Regions from separate parts of the Homo sapiens genome. Here regions 2, 3, 4 and 5 are each linked to region 1. The links are contacts of gene promoters, found by promoter capture Hi-C in blood cells and fetal thymus (Javierre and others, 2016). All regions are on one chromosome and are shown on one strand. Each heading gives the region's core, a stretch centred on a gene start or on the middle of the fragment in contact. The rest is flanking DNA. Distances are from core to core; before and after follow the strand shown. Region 1 holds the start of SIRPD (signal regulatory protein delta). Region 2 has its middle 110 kb from the start of SIRPA. Region 3 has its middle 100 kb from the start of SIRPG. Region 4 has its middle 61 kb from the start of SIRPG. Region 5 has its middle 42 kb from the start of SIRPG.

Region 1 (3,777 bases), core at 343-2,842:
GCGCCTGTAGTCTCAGCTACTCGGGAGGCTGAGGCAGGAGAATCACTTGAACTCGGGAGGCAGAGGTTGCAGTGAGCCGAGGTCATACCATTGCACTCCAGCCTGGGCAACAAGAGCGAAACTCTGTCTCGAAAAAAAAAATACATATATATATATATATACAAATGAAGATGTCAAGAAGGTTGCAGAATATACAGGTCTGTATCATGGGCCCAAGATTACTCAGCTCTTAGGAGGTGCGTTCAGGATTCTAGCCTAGATTATATCTGATTCCAAAGCTGGCACTCTTGGATACTGACCCGTGAGTACTGACTCTCCAAGGAACTTAGAGTCTAATGAAAGGTGAGAAGATTCCTCAGAGTAGGGGAAGGGGAGGATGATGGAGGCTGGAGGAATGTTCCTGTCTAGTTCCAAGCAGGGGCCATGGATAGGAATTCCTTTGTGGAATTCATCATTTCAGAACAACGGGATAGGATGATGACATCACAAGGGGATGGGGACTCTTGTCGTCTCAGAGAGAACGTGCCAGCCTGGCTCTGCTTTCTTTTCCTAGAGGGTCTAACACCTCTCCCGGCCCTGACATCTAGCTGGTTCCTGAGGAGGAGGCAGAAGTCATGAGGAGGCAATGGGGAAACAGCCATGGCAGCCAGTGCCTGCCTGTGGATGCTTGGACATTAAAGGGTCACCAGCTGAGTGTGGGCTGAGTGTCCCTGAACACAACATTTGTGCTTAGGAAGAACCCATTCCAGAGCTGAGAGAGAAGGATGCCAACATGCTGCTTCCTCCCTCTTTCTGGGGGCATTTCTTCTGCCCCTCCAATCCCATCTCTGAGAGCTGGTCCCAGGTCCAGCCCAAGCAGGAGAGGCAGCCCTCACCTTCCCAGGTGTTTGTAGGCATGTTACTCTCCCTCCTAGAGAGTGTTCCCCGCAGCTCCGCCTTCCCTGCAGGCCTCCTCCATCCTCTAAAGCACAAATCATCACCACCTGCACAACTCGAATGTCTTTCTCAGCCATGCCTGATTCCTCTGCAGGAAGGAAAAAGGAAGCAGTTCCTGGTAGTGTATGGAGGGACCCACAGAAAAGCCAAGAGCCCACAGCAGATATTGCTTGTTTTTTACCTCTAACTACTCTGGAGTGCAAGAAAGGGCATCCATTGTAAAGTCCAACTCTTACCAAGTGGGTGAGGCTATAGACATCTTGTCTCTTTCTTCAGCTGTGCAGCTCAGACAGGCCCAGATGTTGAGCTCATGCAGGAGCTAGACCCATACCTGCGCATCATGTGGATGAGGCCTTTGTCTAGCCTATGTGTCTGAGGCTCCTAGATAGGCAAAGGCCATGAAGTTGGGGAGAACCTGTGAGATGGGATGAAACTCAGGAAGGAGTATAAGGCTGTGGGTGTCAAGCCCCCCAGCCCCAGCAAAGCTAAATACTTCCAGCAGCAACTTCCTAGCTTGAAGCAACCTTGTCTGTTCAATTTTATAATCACAAAGGAAAAAGTGTCCCAGTCCCCTGGCCTTTCCTCTCATCACAATCCCCTTCCTCTGACATCACAGAGGCAAGAACTGTCTTCTCTGCTCGGAGCACTGAGTCGAGGGCATCTCCAGGACAGGCATTCAGGCAGAGCAAGCTCCAGGTTTCACCACAATGCCCATCCCTGCCTCCCCACTCCACCCACCTCTGCCTTCCTTACTGCTGTATCTGCTGCTTGAACTGGCAGGTGAGTGGGGCCTCAGTGTATGTGTGTGGTGGGTTCTCCCCTCTGCCTGTTTAGTGAACTCTCCCTCACCTGTTCCCATAGAATTTCTTTTGGGAGGGTTTTCTCCATCTTATCCCAGAACAGGCAGAACTCAGAAGACTACACTGGGATGGTCCCCAATTCTGACAAAGTCTCCCGGTGGCCATGTCTGTTGCAAATCTCTTTGCTCAGGTAAACGACTCACACCTATGGTCACAGGGCGGGGCACAGCATCCATCACAGCTCTCACCCTCCAGCCTCTGGAGGGTGTAATTTATTTTATTTTATTTTTACCTTTACTTATTTTTTTGAGACAGGGTCTCACTCTGTCACCTAGGCTGGAGTGCAGTGGTGCGATCTTGGCTCACTACAACTTCCACCTCCTGGGCTCAAGTGATTCTCGTGCCTCCAACTCCCAAGTAGCTGGGACTACAAGCACGCGCCACCATGCCCAGCTAATTTTTGTCTTTTTTGTAGAGATGGGGTTTCACCATGTTGCCCAGGCTGGTCTCAAACTTATGAGCTCAAGAGTTCCACCTGCCTCGGCCTCCCAAAGTGCTCGCATTATAGGCGTGAGCCACCACACCTGGCCCCTGGCAGATTTTACACTTCTTTCTGTGAAATTCAGTTTTTTATTTCTCTGTTGCCACTGCATTTGGCTGCTCTTAAAAAGTACTGCAAACTGGGTGGTTTAAATTACAGAAATTAATTTTCTCACAGGTCTGGAGACTAGATATTCAAAATCGAAGTGTGGGCAGGGTTGGTTCTTTCTGAGGACTGTGAGGTTGAATCTGTTCCATGTCTGTCTCTGAGCTTCTAGCAGTGGTAGCCTCAAACATTTGTTGGATGGCAGGTGGCACCACCCTCCCTGTATCCTCACATCATCTTACTCCCATGTATGTCTGTCTCTGTGTCCAAATTTCCACTTCCTATAAAAACATCCACCATATTGGATTAGCACCCACCTCAATGACCTCATTTTAACTTGATTTCCTCTGTAACTCTATTTCCAAGTAAGGTCACATTCTGAGCTACTTGTGGTTAAGACTTCAACATATATTTCGGAGGCATACAATTCAACTCATAATAGCCTCAACATGAAATTTTAATAACTTAGATATATTCTTTGTTGGTTTATGTACTGCATTTATATCTGTCTGTGCTTTATACATAGGAAGGGTAACTATAAAGCTTCCTCTTTTTATTCAATGGAGAGTTAAGGATGACTAAAAATATTTAGGTAAAAGCTAACTTAAGATACTTAAAGCTAGTAAAACTCACTTGAATTTTTAACTGTACTTATTGGGTGAGGTACACAGACTGTAAGGTGACTCCCAACTATCCCACCCTTATGTAATCTCAGTTGTGTGTGACATGCTTCTATCTGATAGAATATGGCCAAAGTGATGCACTGTCTCCCCCTTGAGTATGTTAGGTTGTGTAAGATCTATCACACTAGAGTTTTTTTGCAACTTCTGGCCTTAAAGAAGCAAGGAGCCATGTTGCAAACTGCCTGTGAGAAGGCCCACATGGCAATGAACTGAGGGAAGCCCCTAGAAGTTGAGGGCCTCAGTCCTACAACCACAAAGACCTGAATTCTGCCAACAACCTGAGTGAACTTAGAATGAACACTTCCCCAGTCAAACCCCCAGATGAGAACACAGCCCAGCTGGCACCTTGAGTGGAGCTTGGTGAGACCTTGAAGCAGAGAACCCAGCTAAGCTATATCTGAATTACAAATGGACAAAAATTGTGAAATAATTAATATGTGTTGTATTCAGCCTCTAAGTTTGTCGTAATTTGTTATTCAGCGATAGAAAAGGAATATACCGAGTAAGATGGCAAAACCATTCAAAATAAAGTCCTCCATTGTTTTGTAGAACTTATTTGTTTTTAAAGGTGTACAACTTGATGGTTTTTTAAATTTTATCTTGGTTTTAATTGACAAATAATAATTGTATATATTTATGTGGTATAATGTGATGTTCTTATACATGTCTACACAGTGAAATGATCAAATCAGGCTAATTAACATATCCATCA
Region 2 (3,777 bases), core at 800-3,299, 230 kb before region 1:
ATTACAGGCATGAGCCACTGCACCTGGCCCAGTGTCCCTTTTCTGAAGAGCTAGCAACTCTCTGTCCTCTCTGGGCCCTCAGCCTGTTAGGCCAGCACAGGGGCCCATATTCATGATGAGGGCTCTTGGGTCCCCAGCTCCTATAAAAGGTTGTGCTTATAGAGTACGTGACAGCCAGTTCTTGCCGGTGCTAGAATAAGGAAGGAGACTGACGTGACTCTACTCAGAGGAAGCCAAGCCTTACCCAGTGGACGCATGGCCCAGCCTGGGCTAGCCCTGTGGGTACTTTGGCATTCCTCAGGCCACTCCTTGGAGAACCTCATCTTCTCCACTTCCCCTTCAGCCTTCCAGCCCCACAAGGCAGGCTGCCCATGGCTGCCCACCCACTGCAGCTTAGCCCTAGTGTTGCCAGTCTTCTCCTTCTGTGTAGATGGTGTGATTAAGCTGGAGGGCTGAGACAGGAGCCCTGAAGGAAGCCCACTTCCTCCAGGAAGGCTTCTCTGCTTTCTCAGTGGGATTGCTTCCTTCTGTCCCTTGCCCTGTAGCACATACCTTCCTCTTAGTCTGTTTATCCATGGATCCACCCATCCATCCACCCATCCATCCATCCACCCACCCATCCATCCATCCAACAAACATTCATCCGGCACTTATTTACACTAGTGACCAAGGACATGGTCCCTGTCCTCCAGAGCCTACAGTCTAATAAGGGAAAGAGTTATTATGCAACTAGTTTCAAGTTAACAGTTTAATTATAACTGTGATAAATGCTCTGCAAGAGAAGTATTTGAACCCACAGGGAGACATTAGGGTAGAAAAGACTTCCCTGATGAAGAATGTTTCACCCAAGACCTCACTGTCGACTATGGTAGCCAGTAGCCACACGTGACTATTGAGTGTCTGAAATGTGGCTAGTGTCACCAAGGAACTGAGGGTAGATGAATAATTTTACCAAACTTTATAAAGTAACTATTCTGTGTCAGGCCCTGCCCAGTCCAAACTAGTCTGGTTGAAAATGCCAACATTACATCTAGTTCAGCGTCCACTTCCTTCTCTCACCCCAGCCCACTGCTGCCTCCAAGTCCCTGCTGAGGGATCTGGAAGGGATGGAGGTGAAGCATTCTTTTGTCCCTCCTCCTTTCCCTGAATTGGGTCTGTCTATCATCTGGTGTGTTAGGGCCTGGGAAGGGAGATGGAAAAAGAGGGACTTCTTTTACCCAGCAATGCTCTGTTCACTATGGCTGGACTCTGGAAGCCAGCTGCCTCCTAGGGCACAGGTGTGGATTCCTAGGAGGATCCTGAATGTGTGCATGTGTGCATGCATGTGCACGTGTGTGTGCCCATGTGTGTATGCTGTGGGGGTACACAGTCTGCTGCACAGTCTCTTTTATGCATGATCTGATCCAGGTTCACAGCTCCCCGCTGGAGTCCATGCTGCAGTCTCTTACTCCTAGGCCCTCTTGCCAGTGGTCATCTCTCTTGAGTGGGATGCTCTAAGGTCGGCTCCCCCCTTTCAATGAGGGTCTCTCCATGGACCTCACCCCCTTGCCACTCTGCATGGAGGAAGCTTGAGCTGCTGCCCTGCCACCCCGTCACTCTACCCTGCTGTCTCTTTTCAGTTCCTTTTTCTCCTGCTCAGGGCAACATCAAGGTGGATCAGCAAATCCACTGTTGCTTCAGGAGACACCTGGAAAAAGAAAAGCCAGCCTCCTCCTCCTGCAGGCACGTAATATCTAGGAGTCATTTTGGGGTGCCTTGCTTGGCTGAGTAGTGGTGGGGGGTTGTGAGGTCAGGGGAGTTTCCATAACAGCCTCACCCAGGCTAGAAAACTCCTCTCTAGCCTCTCCCTCCACTTTAGCTGAGCGTACAGACCCCAAAGAGATGGGATGGCTGGGGAGCAGGCTGGGCTTGGCTGCTTTGTAATCAGTCTTGAGAACATACCTGGCCCCAAAGGTTCATTTGTTATTAGCGAGTATCTATTCTGTGCCCAGCACTGTGTGGCTGCTGGTTACAGCCATGAACAAAAAGCAGTAGTCTTCAGGGCAAATCATTTGTTTTTCATGAGGGAAATGGATAAAAACGAGTAATATACATCAGGGCTAACCATTGGAAAGCCCAGTAACGTAGGGTAAGGAAATGGAGAGAGACCAAAGGGAGAGGTTGTTTTCATAGGGAGGTCAGGGAAACTGGTGGCTGTGTTTCAAACTCATGTTTCCCCAACGTGGAGCCTAGTAGACAGTTCTGGGCCATGGGAAATCCGTGCCACCATTGTCCAAGCCCAGTTAAGCTGTGAGGCAAGGGTTGGGTTTCAAAGTCTAGGGTCTTTCTTGGTTGCACGTGGTTGTGTATGTCAAGGCTCACTTCTCAACCCTCTGGGCCCATATCTGATCCATTCTGCATTCCCAGAAGCCGTGTCTGGGCCTGGGACAGGGCAGGCTCTTGATGCTGCTTGTTCAGCATGGAGGAGCCTCCAGGACAAGGGACATCAAGGCTCAGCCTATCAGAGGCCAGCTCTGTGGCTTGAAGCTTGAGGCAGAGCTCAGCCGCTTTCTGGTTTTGCTCATGGGGAATCAGGGACAGTCGGAACCCATTAAAAGGCTCCAGATGCCTCCCTGGTTAGACACCTCAGGCCTGAAGGTTTGCAGCTTGGAAGGAGGCCGTGGCCACAGTGACCACTTCCCTCACTGTGGCTCAGGCCTCTGTTCCAGGCATGGCAGAGAATGGGGTGGGGTAGGCAGCTGGGAAGTATAAGGCCTGCTCCAGGCTGTCAGAGGCTGGTCAGTGGCTCCTGGGCTCTTTCAGGGCCTTATCCAGTGGTTGCCACCAGGAACAGACCAGGAGCACTGTGAGTCTCTCACCATGGCTACCACACCTGGGCGGGCCCTGGGCTCCCTCCTGCCCACCCTTCTGCTGGGACTCACAGGTGAGTCCTGATTCCTGCCCAGAGAGACCCTCAGGGCAGGCAAGGAGACCCCCAGGAATGACCAAATCCAGCCACTGTGTCTTTCTGAAGGAAGACTGAGGCTCAGAGGAGGTGACTGAGCTGTTTTCCTGCCAGTCAGGTGCTGTTTTGCATCTTTTCTTCAATGTAGACCTTGCGGACAAAGGGAGCTGGTGGGAGCTTGGGGGTCAGAAGAGGAAGTGACCTAAGGGTGAGGGGCTCGGGGGAGGTCAGGGGGTAAAAGAGGAGCCCACCTCCCAGTTTTCCCGATGTCAGCTCTAGTCTGGGTGGCTACCTGTTCTGGGTCAGAGAGGGTGTAAGGGTGGAAAAGACAGAGCGAGAGAAAGAAAGAGAGAGAGAGAAAAAAAAGAGAGAGAGAGAAGTCGCCAGAGTGATGGAGCCTCCGGCATTGGAGGCATGGAAGAGTCCTGGACCCAAAGTCAGACAGGCCTTCTTACCCTCCCTCTTTAGTCACTGATAGGCTGTGTGACCTTGAGCAAGTCACGAGACCTTTCTGAATCTCTGTTTCCTTTTCTGGAAAGTGAGGACAATAATACCAGCCTCCCACAGCTGAGATGTGGAAGAAAAGAAGCACACATGGCTGAAAATGTTTTCTGAACCACACGGTGCTGTGTGCAGGGTGGGTGATGAGGGCAGAGCACAGTCCAGAAGGTACCAGAGCTGTGTGCTAAGAGGACAAGTTCCTATGGCCTCCTGCGCTGCCCTCTGCCTGTCATCCTGCTTGTCATTGGTTGTTTATTTGCCTTTCACCCCCATCTGACCAGATGCTTCTCAAGGGTGGGGGTCCTGTCTGACTCATCTCTGTGGTCTCAGCA
Region 3 (3,777 bases), core at 461-2,960, 200 kb before region 1:
TACATAATGAAGCTTCTGTAAAAACCCAAAAGGACTGGGTTCAGAGAGCTTCTGGACAGCTGAACACATACAAGTTCCTGAAAAGTGCTGCACCTGCGGACGTCATGGAAGCTCCGTGTCCCTTCCCCATTCCTCTCCCTATGCATCTCTTCATCTATATCCTTTATAATAAACTGGCAAACTTAAGTGTTTCCCTGAGTTCTGTGGGCCGCTCTAGCAAATTAATTAAACACAAGGAAGAGGTCGTGAGATCTCTGATTCATAGCCAGTGAGTCAGAAGCACATTCCTTGCAATTGGCATTGGAAGTGGGGAGAAGTTCCATGGGACTGAGTGCTCATCCCCGTGGTGTCTGACGTTACCTCCAGATAGATAGCATCAGATTAGAATTGGATTGAGGACACCCAGCTGGTGTCTGCTGCAGAATTGATTGCTTGCTTGTTGGTGGAGAAGAAATCTCCCACATTTGGTCACAGAAGTCTTCTGTGTTGATTGTTGCTATATGAGTGCAGAGGAAAAACAGTTTGAGTTTTCCCACCTTTACCCACTTGTAATGGAAGTTTTTGTCTTGTTTTGTTGTTTTTAACTGTTGAGTTTTGAGAGAGATATCCTAGATTTGAACCCTTTGTCAGATGGGTGGTTTGCAAATATTTTCACCCGGTCAGTAGCTTTGTTTTCATCCTTAACATGGTATTTTGGAGAGCGAAAGTTTTAAATTTTGATGAAATCCAACTTATCAATTTTTAAAATTGATCATGCTTTTGATGTCAGGTCTAAGAATCTGCCATCGAGCCTTAGATCCTGAAGATTTTCTCCTAAACATTTTATAGTTTTATGTTTTATCTTTGAACCTACGATCTATTTTGAGATAATTTTTGTATAATGTATGGTATGAGGTTTCGGTTGAGGTTCATTTTTTGTTTATGGATATCCAGCACCTTTTGTTGAAAAGACTGTTTCACTTGTGGAATCAATCCTTCCTCCATTGAATTGCTTTTGCTACTTTGAAAAATCAAGTGTCTGTACTTGTACGGGGCTGTTTCCAGGTTTTCTATTTTGTACCATCGATCTATGTGTCTGTTCCTCTGCCAATATCACAAAGTTTTGATTACTACATCTTTATCATGTCTTAAAATCAGGTATATTGATTCCTTCCACTTTATTCTGTTTTGACTCTTTCAGTTCTCTTTTTTTCCCTTTGTTCATATAAATTTAAAAATAGTCATATATATTTACAAAAATATGTCTAGAATTCTGACAGAAATTGTGTTAAACCTATATATCAGTTTGGATAGAATTGACATTTTTATTATGCTGAGGCTCACAGTCCATGGATATAGCATGTCTCCCTGTGATGGTTAACTTTAGGTGTCAACTTGAGTGGGTTAAGGGATAGCCAGATAGCTGGCAAAACATTATTTCTGGGTGTGTCTCTGAGGGTATTTCTGGAAGAGATTAGTGTCTGAATCAGTGGACTGAGTAAGGAAGATCTGCCCTCATCTAATGAAGATGGGCACCATTCAATCAGTTAAGAGCCTGGATAGAACAAAAAGGCAGAGGAAAGATGAATTCACTCTTTCTTCAGGAGCTGGGACACCAATCTTCTCCTGCCCTTGGATATCAGAACTCCAGGTTATCTGGCCACTGGACTCCAAGACTTACACCAGTGCTATGAGATTACCCAGTCCCAATCTCTACCTCTGTAGAGTCTGAGGCCTTCAGCCTCTGACTGACAGATACGCCAACATCTCCCCTGGTTCTCAGGCCTTCAAATGCAGAACGAGCCACTCCACCAGCTTCTCTGGTTCTCCAGCTTGCAGACAGCATATCGCGGGACTTCTCGGCCTCCATGATCACGTGAGTCAATTCCCATAGTAAATCCCATCTCATCCATCTATTGATATATGTATCCTATTGGTTCTGTTTGTCTGGAGAATGCTGACTAACACATTCCTCTTTATTTGAATCTTCTTTGATTTCTTTCATCAGTGTTTGCAGTTTTCAGCATACAAGTCTTATATATGTTTTGTTAAATTTATAGCTATTTCATTTTTGAGCAAATTAAATGGTATTATATTTTAAATTTTGGTTTTCATGGGTTTATTGCTAGTATATAGAATTAAAGGTAACTTGGCCAGGCATGGTGACTTACGCCTGTAATCCAAGCATGTTGGGAGGCCGAGGCAGGTGGATCACCTGAGGTCAGGAGATTGAGACCAGCCTGGCCAACATGGTGAAATCCTGTCTCTGCTAAAAATACAAAAATTGGCTGGGCATGGTGGCGGACACCTGTAGTCCCAGCTACTTGGGAGGCTGAGGCTGGAGAATCACTTGAACTCTGGAGTCGGAGGTTGTGGTGAGCCAAGATCATGCCACTGCACTCCAGCCTGGGCGACAGAGTGAAACTATGTCTAAAAAAAAAGAATTAAAGTTAACTTTTTGCATGTTGATCACGTAGTCTGTCACCATTCTGAACTCACTTATCAGTTCTAAGAGTCTCTTCTGTAGATTCTGTAGAATTTCCTACAAAGGCTATTATGTCATCTACAAATAGAGATAGTTTTATTTCTTTCTTTCTGATATGTATGCCTTTTATTTCCTTTTCTAGCCTTATTGCCCTGGCTAGGACTTCCAGTACTATACTCAATAAAAGTGGTGAGAGAGGAAGAAACACTGTGACTGAGAAGTCATGGTGAGGCCAGGGCCTGTCACCACCACTGCTGCCACCGAACAACAGAGAAAGCTCCAGGAGTACCTAGAAGTCGAAAGGAACTTCAAGTGCCAAACACTGAGCTTTATCTAAAAGCCAAAAATAATTGCCCAAATCTATCCAAGAGAATGTTATCAATCATGCTGTTTTGCCTGTTAAAGCATAAGGCCCATCAGCATTAAACTCCAGGCCAGACAAGCCAATATTACAAGGTCCCAGAAGCCAAAGTTGAAGCCACTAAAACTGGGCAAAAGGCTGAATATGTTCCTTCTAACCAAACTGTAAGCCTCCAGCAGTAGCTTACAGCAGCACAAAGCTGGATCATTCACCATGGAAAAGCTGTCAAGAAAACCCATGGGGTCACTTAATGCACAGGATTTGAAGACTACAAAGCAGCAGTTAACATATCAAGGAATGTTAAGTGTACAGACTCCATAGGAAATGCCCGCATTGAAAATTAATCTTTGGTTAGCTTTCTAAAAGAGATTAATGAAGAGAATTTGCCTCAAACCTTGTCAGACCCTGAGAGGAAGCCAGACTCTCAATTATGTACTATAAAGAAGTTAAAGAATAACTCTCATAATTGAACCAAGAGCAATTTGGTTCCTCAACAAGCCTTGGGCAGATATTCAGTGACTAGTGCTGCCCTGAAAGACAGAGTTCATAAACAATTTGTTGGAGAAACACAAGTCAAGCTTCTATCAGTAAAGTCATAGCAACTCTCTCAAGAAGATCTTCCAAGACTGGGAGAAAAGCCCCCAAGACAGTTCCCTCTCTCTTTGTTCAGACCCTTAGTAGGACTCAAGCATCAAAAATAAAAAATTAATGGTGGAGGGTACAAAGGTTAATAGGGTTAATTATTAAAGAGCATGTATAAGTTAGTGAATAGGAAGTAAAACATACCAAAACCAGGACATACTCCAGTTTGTTTCAGGGAGGATATAGTAACAGACATTTAAACATTAAGCAAGATCAGCAGTCCATTCAACCTTGTTTTGGGCCTTGGTCGTGTGCACTGCAAAAATCAAAAGCTATAAGCCAGAGGCTAGTTTGACAGTTGGCAGCTTAA
Region 4 (3,777 bases), core at 918-3,417, 160 kb before region 1:
GTGTTTTAAGGTATGTAGCTATTGCTAATGTTTTCTTCTTGATGTTGAAATAATCAGCACCCCCCACCACCACCCTGCATCCCTTGAACATAGGTAGGGAAGGTGGTTTTACCCTGATTTTGCAGATATTACAAAGACATTGAAATTCCACGATGGTTCATATTGTGCCTAGGCAAGCACCCTTATTAAGGCTCAGGAGTAACTCAGATGTGCTGACTCCTAGTAGAGTGTTCATTCCTGTTTTCCAAGCCATTAACCTAAACGATGCCCTGGATTAGATTGGAGAAAAGTGAGGAGGGGACCAAAGAGTGGCAGCTGTCCCAGATGCTGTGTCTTCATCTGGCATTTTCTCCTTATAACCAGTGCTATGAGAGGGAGACCATTTGCTGCCTCATTTATAGATGAGGACACAGGTTTAGAGAGGGGACCTGACTTGTGAGCAGGCAGAGGAGCCAAGTTTTGACCCCCAGCTGCCTGACACACAGCCCTTGTCTCCGCAACACCCAGCTGTGCTTGCTGAAGTGTAGGGAAATGCTTCAACCTTCTCGTTCTAAACTGTTGTATTGTTCTGTTCTATATCACTAAACATTAAAAAAAAAAAGAAAAAAAAGGCTTCTTCTTGTGTGGGTAGGAGGGGCTGGCTTGACAACCCCCATCAGAAAGTTCCTGCAGGCATTATATGTTATGTTGAACCTGTCCTAAAAGATATGTCTTGGCATTTAGGACTCTTCTTACATGTGCCATTTCTCCTTCATCGAGCAGCATCCATGGAGCTGAGTCCAGCCTCCTGCCTTTCAGCAGACCACACTGAAACCACCTTTGCAAAATTATGAGAGACAGTGAAAGAGATCTAACTTAACTGACTCCATCTTGCTTCTAACCTCCAAGCTGTCCTCGTTCATTCCTGGACGTAGGCTGAACTAACTTTGGGAGAAACTTAGTTTATAGTTTAAACAAAGATGGTAACAGCCCTTTCCCAAAGCAGACCTTCTTGCCTGGAGACTAGAATGCCTTTGTAGGACTAACATTAGCCACAAGATGAGAAATTATGGTTTAGGAGTCATGCAGCTGGAGGCTACAAGATTCTGACCCTCCCTAAACTGCTCCTAAGATCAGTGCTTGAGATATTTGGCAGACTCTGAACTTGATGTATCATCCGGCACCACCCAGATCCAAAAACTGGCTCCTCTGCTCTTATGGCCACCTGCCCAGGAACTGACTCAGCTCAGGAAGACAGCTTCGACTCCCTATGGTTTCATCCCTGACCAATCAGAACTCCTGGCTCACTGGCTTCTCCTTACCCACCAACTTACCCTTAAAAACTCTGCTCCCCAAATGCTCGGAGAGACTGATTTGAGTAATAATAAATCTCTGGTCTCCCGCAAAGCCAGAATTGTGTGAATTACTCTTTCAAGCAATTCCCCTGTCTTCATAAATCGACTCTGTCTAGGCAATGGGCAAGGTGAGCCACTTGGGCCATTACAACGTGCCCACCCACTCATGGTGCCGAAGACTAAGGATGTGGGAATGAGACATTTCCTAGAGTTCTCATGCCCCGTGTGAGCAAGAGTTTACATTCTTTTTTGGGCTATTAGGAACCCAAGGTCTTCTGTTTATGGGTACAGAGTAACCATAGGGAGCCCAAGGGGAGAACTACAGAGTAACCAGCCCTGGGCACCCAGAAGGGAGACTTCTCCCTAGAATTGCATTAAGTCAAGAATCTGAAAGGGACAAGGGAGGTGGCAGTCATTGTTGGGGATGTTGAAGTTCTAGTGCTTACTCTTTGATGAACAGGGAAGCTTGGCAAAACACAGGAAATGCCCAAGTCATGCACGGGGGATAAGAAGACAGTGCCTTCATCTCTCTTAGTCTCAGTTTTCTCATCTGTAAAATCATGACAATCTTGGACTCCTTTAGGAGAGTGGAAAGGACTTAAGATTCTCTCTGTAAATCACCTAACACATTGTAGGCACTCTCCCAAATCACGTGTTATTTCAAGGCTGTGTGATCTCAGGCAACCCAGTTCCCTTTGCTGAGCCTGTTTCTTCATATGTAGGGTGTAGATAATTACACCAATCATTCCAGGATGTTAAGAGGATACAGCTAATCTGGGGAGAGAATAGACCAGTAAATGATGGGGTTGTTTTCCCAAGGTTGTGTGATCTTGGTAAAGTCTTGGCTACCCTCGAGTCCTCAGTTTTCCCATTTGTGAAATGGTGATGATCATGGTCACCATTATGGACTCTGTGGGGATTGGAGAGGATGTGCACAGAGTTCTGGATGGTGATGGTGTTAGGGTTATTACTGAGTGTCAGTAGCACAGTGGTTAGGAGAGCATGGGTTGGAGCCCCATCACCTGTGCCACATCTCAGCTCTGACATTTCCCAGCTCTGTGATCTGGGACAAGGCACTCCACCATCGTGGGCCTCGGTATCCTTACCAGTCAATTGTAACTTGACTTGGGAATATCTTCTCCAACTGTATGTGTTGTTTGTTTACTCTGCTGATTATTTATTTTGCTGTTCAGAAGCTTTTTAGTTTAATTAGGTCCCATTTATTCATTTTTGTTTTTGTTGCATTTGCTTTTGGGGCTTAGTCATGAATTCTTTGCTGAGGCTGATGCCTAGAAGAGTTTTTCCAACCTTGTCTTCCAGAATTTTTATAGTTCTAGGTTTATATTTAAGTCGTTGATTCATCTTGAATTGATTTTTGTATGAAGTGAGAGATGAGAATCCAGTTTCATTCTTCTACATGTAGCTTGCCAGTTTTCCCGGCACCACTTATTAAATAGGGTGTCCATTCCCCAACTTATATTTTTGCATGTTTTGTTGAAGATCAATTGGCTGCACATATTGGGCTCTATTTCTTGGTTCTTTATTCTGTTCCATTGGTCTATGTGCCTACTTTTATACTAGTACCATGCTATTTTGGTAACTATAGCCTTGTAGTATAATTTGAAGTCTGGTAATGTGATGCCTTCAGGTCTGTTCTTTTTGCTTAGTATTGCTTTGGCTATGCAGGCTCTTTTTTTTTGTTCCATATGAATTTTAGGATTGTTTTTTCTAATTCTGTGAAAAATGCTCCTAGCATTTTTATGGGAATTGCATTGAATTTGTAGATTGCTTTGGGCATTATGCTCATTTCCTTAATATTGATTCTTCCAATCCATGAGCATGGGATGTGTTTCCATTTGTTTGTGTCACCTATGATATCTTTTAGCAGTGTTTTGGAGTTCTTGTTGTAGAGATTTTTCACTTTCTTGGTTAAGTATATTCCTATGTATTTTATTTATTTTACAACTGTTGTTTGTTTTCCTAGGTATTTTATTTTGCAGTTGTTTGGGACTGAGTTCTTCATTTGATTCTCAGTTTGGTGGTTGTTGGTGTGCAGCAGTGCTGCTGAGTTGTGTACGTTGATTTTGTAACCTGAGACTTTATCAAATTCATTTATCAAATCTAGGAGTCTTTTGGAGGAGTCTTTAGGATTTTCTAGGTATATAATCATATCATCTGCAAAGAGCAATAGTTTGACTTCCTCTTTTCCCATTTGAATGCTCTTTACTTCTTTCTCTTGCCTAATTTCTCTGGCTAGGATATCCAGAACTATGTTGAATAGAAGTAGTGAAAGTGGGCATCCCTGCCTTATTCTTGTTCTTGGGGGAATGCTTTCAACTTTTTCCCATTCAGTAGGATATTGGCATAGGTTTCTCATCTATGGCTTTTATTTTTTTGAGGTAGGACTCTTCTATGCCTAGTTTTTTGAGAGGAGAGTTTTTAT
Region 5 (3,777 bases), core at 518-3,017, 140 kb before region 1:
CATTATCATTTGTATATTGAAACATCTTTGTATTCTAGGAATAAATTCCACTTACTCATGGTGTAGAATCCTTCTAATATGCTATTAAATTCAGTTTGTTAGTATTTGGTTGAGAATTGTTGCATCAACAAATTATAAGACCAACAGTCCACAAAATGGTGTGCAGCTGCACCTGACGGAAATTTTAATTTTGCTTTTCAGTGGAAGTTTAGGTTCCAATGGGCCCCATTTCAGATGAGCAGAGCCTTGCATGTGGGACAATCTACGGTTCATGATTGCAACAGGAGAGTATTGTTCCTAGATCTGGACTCCAGGATGGGAGAGCCCAGTAGGTAACCAGGCATTTGTTGTTTTAATGGAATATAGCACAAGGGTGAGAGGGGCATTGTTTTTGCATCAAAGGCCCTGGGGAGATGTATGGCCATCATGAATGGTCTAGAAACTCCAAAAAGCATGAAAGAAATTGCTAAAGTCTCCACAGAGAAGAGGTATTTTTGTTTCTTTGTTTATAGGCACTAACAGGGGTGCCTATTGATTTTAATTTGTAAATAAACTTTGTAAAAGAAGAATATGTTGCCACTGGCGCCTCAAAACAACTTAGAGATGCTGGATAATGTGATGTTAATATGCACATCACATGAATCTCCTTTGAAGAGGTTGTTATCAATGTTATGTCATCCTGTGCTCTTGAAGAAATGTAGATGTCATTATTGATATTTAAACAGGATCCTCACTTCAGGATAGAGAGTCTTGGCAGAACTCCAAAAGGTAACATGAAGCTGCACATAGCACAGCAAAAGAAAGCCATCAGTGTAAAAAGCCTTCTCAAGTTGTGGAGCCAATCAGAGTAGCAAATTAGTAAGCCATGAATAGTTAAAGAGCATCTCCTAGGAAATTTCCACCCCAGTTTAGAATGATCCCATTCTCATTGCCATTGGTATTGAAAATGCTAAAGTCAGGCTATTGGGTCTTTATGAATCACTCTAAGATGGTCATGAAATTTTCACTTGGAAAGGCATGTGGAATATGATTTATTTTACTCACAGGTCCTAGAGAGGGAAGTAGGGCATGCTACGTAGAAAGCCATATGAGAAGAGCTCCTAGGAAGCAGGCTCAATCAAGCAGATGGGGAAGCAAGAGAGAAAGAATTCCTCAGCAAGTGCCTTTACTGGGAGTCAGGGTAGAGGGTACAAGCAAAGAGCATGATGGGATTTACTGGTGTCTTTTTATGGGATTAGGTCACAATATGGGAGGGCAAGAAAGGGAAATTGTGCCAGGAGCCAGCCTTATCACACTGGTGCACCTGGTCACCTGGGCAGGGTACTCACAGCATGATTGTGGGATGTTGAAGCATCAGAAAAATATGAACTAAAATAAATTTACATGTAGCAGGACTTTTTTTTTTTTTTTTAGACAGAGTCTCACTCTGTCACCAGGCTGGAGTGCAGTGGCACGATCTCGGCTCACTGCAACCTCCAACTCCCTGGTTCAAGCTACATGATCTCGGCTCACTGCAACCTCTGACTCCCTGGTTCAAGCTATTCTCCTGCCTCAGCCTCCTGAGTAGCTGGGATTACAGGCATGCACCACCACGCTCAGCTAACTTTTGTATTTTTTAGTAGAGACAGGGTTTCACCATGTTGGCTATGATGGTCTTGATCTCCTGACCTCGTGATCCGCCCGCCCTGGCCTTCCAAAGTGCTGGGATTATAGGCATGAGCTACCATGCCCAGCCTGGACATTTTTATTTATACAACTTGCAGTTGCCATGTAGCATCCTTTTATTTCTACCTGAAACCACTCTTGTAGGTAAGGTTTAATGGTAGTGAACTCTCTTAGTTTTTATTCATCTGAGAATATCTTAATTTCTCCCTCATGTTTAGAGGATAGTTTTCCCAGGTATAAGATTCTTGGTTGATAGGTTTTTCCTCTTTCAGCATTTTCAGCATATCACTCCTCTGCCTTCTGGCTTCCAGTGCTTCTGATAAGAAATTGGCTGATCATCTCATTGAAGAACTCTTGTATGTGAGGAATCCATTCTCTATTGCTGCTTTCAGGATTCTTTCCCTGACTTTAGTTTTCAACAGTTGGATTATAATGTGTCTTAGTGTGGGTCTCTGAATTTTTCCTTGAGTTAAACTTGAGTTTCTTCAGAATCTTAAATTTGAGGATTCATGTATTCTATCAAGTTTCAAAAGGTTTTGGGGTATTATGTCTTCAAATAATCTGTTCCTTTCTCTCTTCCTCTTTTCTTCTTCTAGAACTCTAACAATGTTTGTGTTGATCCATTTGATAATGTCCTACAATGTCCTCGGGTTCTGCTTGTTTTTCTTTATTCCTTTTTCTTTCTATTCCCCAGTCACAATAATTTCAATTATTCCATATTCCAGTTTTCTGAATCTCTCTTCTGACTGCTCACACCAGTTGGAGAACACCTCTAGTGGATTTTTCAATTATTGTACTGTTTAACTCTTAAGTTTCTGTTTATTTTTTATAATTTCTCTTGCTGTTGTTCTTATTTTATTAATGCATCATATTCCAATGTTTCTTTAGTTTTTTTTCTGTTGTTTTCTTTAGCTGTTTGAGCATGTTTAAGACAGTGATTTAACATCTTGGTCTAGTGTCAGAAAGGGCCCAATATATGACAAGGGTCTTTGTAGGACATATGACAATGGAAGCAAGATGTGGGAGTGATGGGAAGATGTAACTGTGAGGAAAGGAATGTGGCAGCAAGGAACAGAGCCTCTAGAATACACACAGCTTTGCTGACACCTCTTATTTAAGGGGTAAAACATGGTGCTTTCGTATACATAGACATAGTGTAATGGTTATTACAGTCAAGCAAATGAACATATCCACCCTCTCACATAGTTACCGTGTGTGTGTGTGTGTGTGTGTGTGTGTGTGTGTGTGTGTGTGTAGGGCATCTAAGATAGACTCTTTGAGCAAAAATACTGAATTCAATGCAATGCTATTAACTCTAGTCCTCATATTGCACATTAGATCTCTGGACTTCTTCATCCTACCTTTCTGCAGTTTTGTATCTTTTGGCCTGCATCTCCCCATTACCTCTCCGACTTCACTCCTGGCCACCAACATGTCATCCTCTATCTTTGTATATCTGAAGATTTTTCTCCTTGATTCTGTCCAGTAACATGATTTTGGACTTCTGACCTCCAGAACTATAAGATGATACGTTTCTTTTGTTTTAAGATGCTAAGTTCTGATAATTTGTCACATCAACATTAGGAAACTAAGGTAATGTAATTATGCTATGGGTGAGAAATTCTCAGGGGCTTAAAACAATGTTGTACTTGTTAGTTAAGCTGCATGTTCAGTGTGTGTGGAGAATTCATGGTCATTCAGGCATCCAGGCTGATGGAGCAGACCTCATCAGAGCCTCGTAGGTCTCTGTGGAAGGGAGAAGTTAATCCACAGAGGCTCTTGCAGTTAAATGCACAGCCCACAAATTATACCCATCATTTCTGCTCACAACTCAGTGGCCTAAAGGAGTCACATGGCTCCACCCAATGCAATGATTCAGAAAGTCTGGCCAGGCGCGGTGGCTCACACCTGTAATCTCAGCACTTTGGGAGGCCAAGGCAGGCAGATCAACTGAGGTCGGGAGTTTGAGACCAGCCTGACCAACATGGAGAAACCCCGTCTCTATTAAAAACACAAAAGTAGCCAGGCATGGTGGCGCATGCCCGTAATCCCAGCTACTCGGGAGGCTGAGGCAGGAGAATCCCCTGAACCCAGGAGGCGGAGGTTGTGGTG

What was found. The method cuts DNA at HindIII sites, captures the fragments that hold promoters and counts their contacts. A CHiCAGO score of 5 or more calls a contact.
Region 2: a fragment that was not itself captured here is called in contact with the fragment with the promoter of SIRPD in region 1 in 3 of 17 cell types (activated CD4 T cells, non-activated CD4 T cells and naive CD8 T cells); the score reaches 6.3 in activated CD4 T cells.
Region 3: a contact is called between a fragment that was not itself captured here and the fragment with the promoter of SIRPD in region 1, in 6 of 17 cell types (activated CD4 T cells, non-activated CD4 T cells, total CD4 T cells and 3 more). The highest score is 8.3, in activated CD4 T cells.
Region 4: a contact is called between a fragment that was not itself captured here and the fragment with the promoter of SIRPD in region 1, in 5 of 17 cell types (non-activated CD4 T cells, total CD8 T cells, total CD4 T cells and 2 more). The highest score is 6.8, in non-activated CD4 T cells.
Region 5: a fragment that was not itself captured here is called in contact with the fragment with the promoter of SIRPD in region 1 in 3 of 17 cell types (activated CD4 T cells, non-activated CD4 T cells and total CD4 T cells); the score reaches 5.8 in activated CD4 T cells.

The regions. Positions count from the first base shown.
Region 1 is chr20:1,555,520-1,559,296 of GRCh38, reverse strand. SIRPD (signal regulatory protein delta) reads left to right here and starts at 1,592. Exons shown (of 4, transcript NM_178460.3): 1 at 1,592-1,716. The coding sequence starts at 1,644. It overlaps LOC107985409 (a long non-coding RNA gene), which reads right to left and starts at 1,290. Exons shown (of 3, transcript XR_007067493.1): 1 at 1,173-1,290. The HindIII fragment of the contact is 3,313 bases long and covers 1-2,927 here.
Region 2 is chr20:1,781,274-1,785,050 of GRCh38, reverse strand. No RefSeq gene overlaps it. Among named protein-coding and RNA genes, the nearest start is that of SIRPA, 110 kb to the left of the region's middle. The HindIII fragment of the contact is 959 bases long and covers 1,570-2,528 here.
Region 3 is chr20:1,757,851-1,761,627 of GRCh38, reverse strand. It overlaps the pseudogene CKAP2LP1. Among named protein-coding and RNA genes, the nearest start is that of SIRPG, 100 kb to the right of the region's middle. The HindIII fragment of the contact is 3,391 bases long and covers 15-3,405 here.
Region 4 is chr20:1,716,614-1,720,390 of GRCh38, reverse strand. It overlaps the pseudogene SIRPB3P. Among named protein-coding and RNA genes, the nearest start is that of SIRPG, 61 kb to the right of the region's middle. The HindIII fragment of the contact is 731 bases long and covers 1,802-2,532 here.
Region 5 is chr20:1,698,187-1,701,963 of GRCh38, reverse strand. It overlaps the pseudogene SIRPB3P. Among named protein-coding and RNA genes, the nearest start is that of SIRPG, 42 kb to the right of the region's middle. The HindIII fragment of the contact is 6,521 bases long and covers 1-3,777 here.